Regions from separate parts of the Homo sapiens genome. Here region 2 is linked to region 1. The links are contacts of gene promoters, found by promoter capture Hi-C in human tissues and cell types (Jung and others, 2019). All regions are on one chromosome and are shown on one strand. The core of a region is centred on a gene start or on the middle of the fragment in contact, and the rest is flanking DNA. Distances in the headings are between cores, read along the strand shown. Region 1 holds the start of S100A7 (S100 calcium binding protein A7). Region 2 has its middle 12 kb from the start of S100A7A.

The links. The method cuts DNA at HindIII sites, captures the fragments that hold promoters and counts their contacts. A contact is called where the count stands out against the background at its distance.
Region 2: a contact is called between a fragment that was not itself captured here and the fragment with the promoter of S100A7 in region 1, in 20 of the 25 tissues and cell types used here (H1 embryonic stem cells, IMR-90 fibroblasts, adrenal gland and 17 more).

The regions. Positions count from the first base shown.
Region 1 is chr1:153,458,862-153,463,261 of GRCh38, forward strand. S100A7 (S100 calcium binding protein A7) reads right to left here and starts at 1,790. Exons shown (of 3, transcript NM_002963.4): 1 at 1,747-1,790; 2 at 12-169. The coding sequence starts at 152. The HindIII fragment of the contact is 11,087 bases long and covers 1-4,400 here.
Region 2 is chr1:153,402,798-153,407,197 of GRCh38, forward strand. It overlaps a transcript of S100A8 not described here. Among named protein-coding and RNA genes, the nearest start is that of S100A7A, 12 kb to the right of the region's middle. The HindIII fragment of the contact is 3,683 bases long and covers 463-4,145 here.

The sequences.
Region 1 (4,400 bases), core at 540-3,039:
CACCGACTCACACAGGCACTAAGGAAGTTGGGGAAGTTCTCCTTCATCATCGTCAGCAGGCTTGGCTTCTCAATCTTGTCATCACGTCTGGTGTATTTGTGAAACATGTCGATCATGCCTATTATGGACCTCTCAGCTTGAGTGTTGCTCATCTTTGCTTTCAAAAAGCCTTCAGGAAATAAAGACAATCATTTTTTTCCCTTCATTTAAGTTAGGGTCTCTATTTGGGAGTGCTGGAAGGAGGGCTGAGGACAGAGTAAAAACACGGATAAGGTGTAGCAGAACGAACTCAATTTTTTTTTAATGTGATGGGATAAGTTGCTCAAAAATGAGAGGGTAGGACCAAGTCTGAGACCTGGCCCATCCTGGCCAGGGCCAAGAGGAGATGCAGGTGGATGGCGGAAGTCCAGCTGTGGACAGTGCTTCAGAGAGGGAGAAGCAGGGAGAGTCGGGCGCCAGCAACACATGGAAGAACTAAGCTGGGACACCCCAGCCTCAGCCAGCACATGGCAGACCCCACTCTTAAAAGAGCACCAAATCCATCTCCTCCAGCTTCACAGTCGGGGTGACAGTCATGGGGGCAGGACAATGGCCTTGGTGATCTGGTGTCTGACCCTCCTCGGCTGCTTCAGGAACCAGACACCGTGGGCCCCACCTTGACTCAAGTGCAAGCCCTGCATGACACGGTGTGTGCAGGCTCCAGGTGCACATGTGAGCGTGGACGTGAGTGTTAGCAGGAAACACAGTCCTGTCCCGAGCACAGGGGGCCCTTCTTGTATTCCCTTGGGAACGAGAAACAGGAATGGCCTCTGTTACAAGGAACAGAAATAACTCTCTGGTTCTTAAGCTGCTGGACGGGGTGGGAGTGAGGTGGGAGTCACTTCATGTCTGCTCTTGGGAATTATCTGCACCCTCTGAATCACCAAGCCTTGACTGTTTAAATAAAAATGTCTGACTTCCCAAAGCAGATCTTTCAGCCAGTAGTCAGTCTGGGCTGGCCTGCACCCCAAGCCTGAAAAATAGGACAGTGCAGTTCTCACTTCCCACACTTTCCAAAGAACCAGGAAAGGACCTTGGCTAATGCATATGGGTGTCTGACAATAAACCCCCAACACCTCTCAATGCAGGAGAAAGCTCCATGCCGGCAACTGACTAAGAGGAGCCACCCAGAGCTTTTTTGAATCTGAGGCCAAGGCCAGAGGGCAAGCCCTGTGCCCAGAGGGTGACTGACAATTTGCAGGTTGTGGTAGGGAGTGACGGAGCGTTGGTTTCTCAATACCTTACCCAGGTAGGGGCAAGCCATCTGGCCAGGGCTATGCTGTGTCGGGGTCCCAGGCCTGGGGGTTTGGAGAGCCTCCAAAGCATTCACAGGGGACCCCTAGCCCTCCACCCTCTGTGGAGCTGGAGCTGGGGAGGGGATTTAGCAACCGGGACCCCAACAGGAGGATGAATCCAGGGAGGAAGAGGACAGGGAGGGTCCTGTGCTCAGGTCCCACTGGGGACATTTCCACAGGAGTTGCCTCAGGAGATCCCAAAGGAGCAATGGACAGGTCTGGTTCAGCCACCTGGTTATACAGACGTGGGCTTTTGGGGTCAAGTGAAGGTCACACAGCCCAGCTAATGGCAGAGCTGGCCTAGACCCAGGCTTCTGAGTCTTTGTCCACAGCCCTTTCCCTTCCTACAGGCAGCATGGCAGGCCAGGCACTGGGCACTTCTAGAAAACGCAAAGAGGCAGGTGAGACTTACCAGAGCTGGGAAGCGTCACGAGTAGAAGGATGAGTGAGATGTGTGTGTTTGGACAAAGAGCAGTCCTTTATAAGGCTCAGCCTGGCTCTTCCCAGGGGCTGGGAGGCCTGGGGCCACCTCTGTCATCTGTTTCTTGGAGGCTTGCCCCACATCAGGTGGGTGGGACACACCCAGGAGGCTGTGCTCAGGATTTCTGGCCAGTGTCCCAGGTCACCAGGTCCCACCCCACCCCAGAGACCTCACCTGGAGTCTTCTCTGGCTCAACCTTGATTTGAGGGTAAGGCAGCGGTACATGTGTAGTAGCAGGTCAGAAAATGGGAGAAAAGAGCACTGGGCCTCTGGACCCAAAGAGGATGGAGTTTCAGACTCCTGAAGGCAGCATGGTCTTGTTTGTTCCCTCCCCTTATCCTTCCACACATTTGTTATGACAGCCTGTTCTATGACCCCCACCGCTGACTGAGCATTTTAATGTCTAGATATCAAGATACCTGCTGCTCCTGCATCCTCCTCAACCCTCATAGTCCTAAGAGGTGCTTCAATCTCTATTTTAGGAAAGGAGAAGTTGAGATGTTCCCAAGTTTACTCAGCTAGTAAACACAACAAATCATTATATGGACTCAGAAAAGCCTGAATCAAATCCTTACTCTTATCCCCTGTGCTATAGGTCTTGGGTCACATCAGGGTCTGCCCTATGGGAACTCAAAGTCCAGGGAGGGAAGCAGGGTTACTTCATTGCTAACCATTGGTCAGCCCCTCACAGAAGCCCTGGAATTAGGTGGGGGGACTGGGGTCAGGGGCCTCACTATCTAGGTTGAGTGGTGGAGTGACCCCCCCATGGAATGAGCCTGGAGGCAGGGAGTGGGAAAAGTTCTTTCCTGCCCCATGGCACTAACTTCCCAGAAAGTCTTCAGTGTTTTTCCTCCTCCTATGCAAAACAGCCTGTGTAGGAGTTGGGAGTTGTGCCCTTGGCTATAATGTGCCCTAACCTGCTGTGGAAAGGCTGACCCAGGTAGGGGCAAGAGGGTTGGGAAGGCATGGGAATCCCTGGGGCATGGTGAGGAAAGGGAGATGATGAATCACTGAAATGGACTTTTTCTGCTACCCCCTTGCAATGTTCCTTTTAGGGTGCAAGAGAGTTCCAGGTTCATTTAGTGCCAGCCCTTTAAGCACTCTGGGGCTCCACAGAGCTGATGTGATGTCTCCCTAGGTGGGACCTATTTTCTCCACCCATCATCTTTCTTCAACTTCCTTCTCGTCAGTACCTATGTAACCAGGGGGACCTGTTTCTCCCTCTCCCAGTTCCCCATGTGATGGCAATATTACTTTTAACAGCAAAAGATACATACACACACACACAGTGGAATGCTACTCAGCTATAAAAAAAGAATGAAATCACGCTTTTTGCGGCAACATGGATGGAACTGGAGGCTATTATCTTAAGTGAAATTACTCAGAAAGTCAAATACTGTGCAACCTCATGTGTAAGTGGGAGCTACATCATGCATACAGATGGAGGTAGAGAGTAGAATCATAGACACTGGAGACTGTGAAGGGCAGCAGGTGAGGCGGTGGGTGAAGGATGAGACATTTCTTAGTGGGTACAATGCATGCTATTTAGGATGGCTTCATTAAAAGCCCAGACTTCACCATTGTGCCATATATTCATATATATGTGTATGCAGGTTTTTGTGTGGACATAAGTTTTCACTTCTTTTGGGTAAATCCCAAGGAGTGTGATTTCTGGATCCTATGGTAAGAGTATGTTTAGTTTTTTAAGAAAGCACTAAACTGTCTTCCAAAGTGGCTGTACTATTTTGTGTTCCTGCCATCAATGAATGAGAGTTCCTGTTGCTCCACATCCTTCTTCAGCATTTGCTGTTGTCCAGTGTTCCAGATTTTGGGCATTCTCATAAGTGTGTACTGGTATCTCATTGTTGTTTTAATTTGCATTTCCTTGAGGACATATGATGTGGAGCATCTTCTGATATGCTTATTTGTCACCTTCTGTATCTTCTTTGATGAGATATCTGTTAAGGTCTTTGGCCCATTTTCTAATTGTTTGGTTTGTGTTCTTATCGTTGAGTTTTAAGAGTTCTTTGTATGTTTTGGATAACATACAAAGTCTGATATGTCTTTTGTAAACATTTTCTCCCAGTCTGTGGCTTATCTTTTCATTCTCTTGACAATATCTTTCACAAAGAGAAATGTTAAATTTTAAAGAAGTCCAGCTTATGAATTCTTTCTTTCATGGATTGTGCCTTGGTGTTGCCATCTAAAAGTCATCACCAAAACCAAGATGATCAAATTTCCTCTTATGCTACCATCTAGGAGTTTTGTAACATTGTGTTTGCATGTAGGTCTATGATTCATTTTGAGTTATGTATCATCACTGTTTAGAAAAAAGGAACAGAGGAAAAGTAATACAAAAGGAATCAGGGACAACAATATTAATACAAGACAACAAAGAATTCTAAGAAAAGGGATTAAATGAAAAAGAAGAATATTTCTTATTGATTAGTGTGCAAGTCACCAAGATGCGGTAGTCTTATTCTTTTTTTTTCTTTTTCTTTTTTTTGAGACAGAATTTCGCTCTTGTTACCCAGGTTAGAGTGTAGTGGTGTCATCTTGGCTCACTGCAACCTCCTCCTCTTGGG
Region 2 (4,400 bases), core at 1,054-3,553, 56 kb before region 1:
AGAATAGCCAAGGGAATCATGAAAAAGAAAAGACATGGGAGGATCTACAGTACTAGATGTTAAGATTTATCATAACAGCTCCGGTAACTAAGATACTGCCTGGCTGGTTCAAGGACAGTCACATAGATCAACAGAACTAAATAGAGGTCTGAGAAAAAGACACACACGTATGGTATATTTATTCTGTGACAAAAGTGGCACTGCTGAGCACAAGCTTTTCAATACATTTTACTGGATCAACTGGATGCTCATGCTCATGAAACTAGACCACACAAGCAGACAAAATGACAATTCCAAGTGGATTGTAGGTCTAACTGTGGAAAGTAAAGTCATAAAGCCTCAGTAGCATATGCAAAGATATTCAAGACCTCAGTCTTGAAGATTTACTTCTATATTTTCTTCTAAGAGTTTTAGTTTTAGCTCTTATGTGTAGGGCTGTGACCTATTCTGAGTTAATTTGTGTGTATGAAGGAAGGAAGGGGTCCAGCTTCATTATTTTGCATGTGGCTGTCCACTTGTCCCAGCATCATGTGTTGGAAAGACTATTCTTTCTCCATTGAATTGGCTTGGCGGGCTTGTTGAAAATCAATTGACTGTGAATGTGAAGGCTGAGAACACTTTATCATGAACTGTTAGCTTCACCTATGTAAAGATATCTTCTCTCTGCTCTACCTCCTGTCGAAATCTGACACGACTCTTGCTCAAAACAAGCTTTGTTTCCTGAGTTCCGTGGCCTTGTCTCATGTGGAGCAATCATGTCACATTAACCCCCTCCCCACCCCCACTCCACGTCCACCCTGTGGGCCACGGCCCTGCCCTTTCCCAGCTGTTTTATGATCTGCTTTTTCAATTAGGACTATGTTTAAAACATCTCCCCAGTTCTTAAATATTTTTGAGTGATTGATTCCAAATAGCTACATTATATGGAATTCCAGAACCATTCTGACTAACAACACTTTTGACGCCAAATGTGTGGGGGTTATATTTCCTTTTTTTAAAATCCCCACACCAACCAATTCTCCAACACTCTGAACACCATCGGGGTATCGTGCAATTCCGTTCTGATCCTAACTACCAAGAGTTAGCACAGACCCCACAAGGTGAAGGCTCAGCCCCACAACACTGCCCCCACTGCAGATGCCAATCGCAGCACCTGACCGCCCATACTTCTGACTGACTGGCTAAAATTGGAGGTTCCTACAAACCCCCTCCTCAGGTTAGATAATCTGCTACAAGAGTTCACAGGACTCAGGGAGGCACTTTACTCATGATTACTGGTTTATTACAAAGAGTACAACTCAGGAAAAGCCACGTGGAAGAGACACACAGGGCCATGTATGAGGGGCAGCATGGAGCTCCCAGGCCCACTCCAGGAGCCCACCCTTCCGGCACCCCACCTGCTCAGCAGCCCTACAGTTCTCTGAACCCCATCGTTTGGGGTTTCTATGGCAGTCACTTCATTTAGGCATAGTTGATTAAATAATTGGCCACTGGTGATTGAAGTCCTTCCCCAGCCGCTCTGTGGAGGCCCAGTGTGGGGCTGAAAGCTCCAGCCCTCTAATCACATGGTTGCTTCCTCTGGCAACCAGCCCCATCCTGAAGCTATCTAGGGGTCCACCAAGAGTCACCTCATTAGCACACACTCAGCATGACTGGAAGGGGATTGTTATGAATAACAAAAGATGCTCCCTCTCCCCTGTCATTCAGGAGATTCCAAGGATTTCAGACGCTCGGTGTCAGGAACAGGGACAAAGACCAAATGTCCATTTCGTATCATCACAGGGATTCCATGTGTATAGGCATCAAGATTTACTTAACCCACCATTACTAAAAATTTAATTATTTTTATCTCTTCCTGTTTCTACCACTTGATTAACAATTGTGTCCCCAATATACTATTTTATGCAGTGTCCTCTGGTAAGCATTGGAGAGAGAAAAGAATACAAATTAAGTAAGAAAAGCCCTCTGCCTTTCAGAAGCTTTTGGTGAAGATCTCTTTTTTTAACAGGTGCAAGATTGGTGCCCGACGTGGGACTCACAACCTACAGAAGGGCGGGAACCACGAAGGACCCAGCCACGTGGTACTGCCTCCGGCGACAACCAGGGCGAGGTGGGTGCTCGGTGGCGCCACCGTGTGGAAGCTTGGGAAACAGAAAACCAATTCTCTGCACTCAGGGCCAGAGTTTTGTCCTGGGCCTCTGACTGGGGCCAACTGTAACAGGAACAGCCCTTACAGTGTAAGTCAGAATCCTACAGTCCTCCTTGGCCAAGGAGCCTTCCTGGAGTCCCCCCCACCCCGCACTGCTTTCTCCAGCTTGCCAGTTTTACCTACACGGCCCAGCCTCGTCTTAAAATTGGGCGAGATGAGGAATGATCATTGCCAACTTGAAATTTGGTTGAACAGATACATTTCTCAGGGTACGCTTGGGTCACTTCCTAGCACTGTCTGTGTATGCGGCCTCCGAGAAAGCAACCTCCCTTATCAGGCTAACAGAATTGACAGTAAATCCTCCCAGCAAACCCATTCGACAGGATGGTGGGTGTTAGTCCAAACTGCACCATTTTGTAAGCCCCCTGCCATTTTGCGGACCCTGGTCAGAGTGAAACATTCCATGTGGATTCAGGCCGTGAGAAACATCCTGCCTAACCACCTGACCGCAAGGCACAAGAGCATCCTTATCATACCCTGCTGGGCAAAGGCGCAACTGAAGGAACATCCCCATCATATCCTGCGGGGCAAAGGTCCAAGAAACAGCCTATCACATCCCGCTGGAAAAAGGTCCAAACCGCCTGATCACAGGAACATCTTATCAATATCCTCCCGGCGAGCTAGCCATACTGCCCAGACCCCCACCTAGACCTATAAATTACCCCAGCCTGTAAGCGGCAGGGGGCTCTGGCATTAAGCTTGTCCCCCACCTCCTCAGGTCTTGTGCTGGACATAAAACCTGCATTTCCATAGAGCCACCAACTCTCTCTGTGTCTTTTTTTAACCCTTGCCTTCCCTTCAAAACCTAACAGTGGGACCACAGGCTCTGGGCTGCAGCTGGGTGTTCTCATCCTCCAGTGTGGATGGCTCACAGCAGAACTGAGTCCTAATAACCTCTTGTGAATGCTGCAGAACTCTCTCTCTGTCTCTCTGTCCCGCTCCCCCAACTGCTGCACGAGTCCAGAGATGCAGCTGGCCAGCACCACCCAGAAGGACCCCAAACAGAACAGCTGGCTGTCTTGGAACATTCCCGTGGCTCCCTCTGCCCTGTCCCTCTCACCGTGGCTCCTGGAAGTGCTCTATGGCCTATTGAAAGGATGCCCCTACAAAGCTTCCCCTGGTTCCCCCACCTGAAAAGTGATTTCTCCTCTTCCAAATTCCCACACACTTTATCTGAACCTTTTTGAAGACACCTGCCTCACTTGCTAGTTTGGCCAATGTTTATGGAGTTCTCTGCACTGGAGGCTGGGGGCACAATATAAGACATGGCTGGGCGGCAGCAAACATAGCATATGTGTGGCCAGGGCTGTCACTGAGACATGCAGGGACATGGGGATGATGGCTCTGCCTGGAGAAGGCTTCACAGAGAAAGTGACCACTGAACTGCCTGGGGACCTGGGGGCTTCCGGGCTCTGTCCCACTCTACTCTCTCACCACCCAGTGCCTTATATTGGAGTTCTCTCCTGGGGCCAGAGCATTGCTCAAAGCATGGTCCACATCCACTCCATCTCCCTGCCACCCTGACACCTGCACACCCAGAACAGAGTCAGCACTCACAGCATAAATGAATGGATAAAATACAGCAAAAAGAACAAATTGCTTTCTGTCCTCTTCCCCCAGCAACTTGAGATCTTCTAGAGACCCAGGAGTATGTTGCTTCTACTTCAGGCTGGGGAGAGGCGAGCTCCCCAAAACGATAGAGGAGATGAAGATATCAACCAGCCAAATTCCTGTTCACAATCAGCCTGTTGTGAGCTCTCCTGGGGGATCAGCAGTGGCTGGGAGGTTGGATGTGTGATAGGATGGGGTGGGTTTATGGAGAGTGTTTGTTCCAGACATGACACAGGGGAAAGGCTCACAGGGTTCAACCTGATGAGCAGGTGCAAAAGATAAGGCCCCTATTAAAGCTAATTTGCTAAGATTTTGATTTTAGCAAAAACAAATGATCAGTTTTTTGGATGTCTCAAATATGTTTGATATTTTTGGAGAGGTTCCAAGATGGCCGAATAGGAACAGCTCCAGTCTACAGCTCCCAGCGAAGCAGAAGACAGGTGATTTCTGCATTTCCAACTGAGGTACCGGGTTCATCTCACTGGGGCTTGTCAGACAGTGGGAGCAATACAGTGGATGCAGCCCACAGAGCATGAGCTGAAGCAGGGTGAGCATCACCTCACCCAGGAAGCACAAGGGG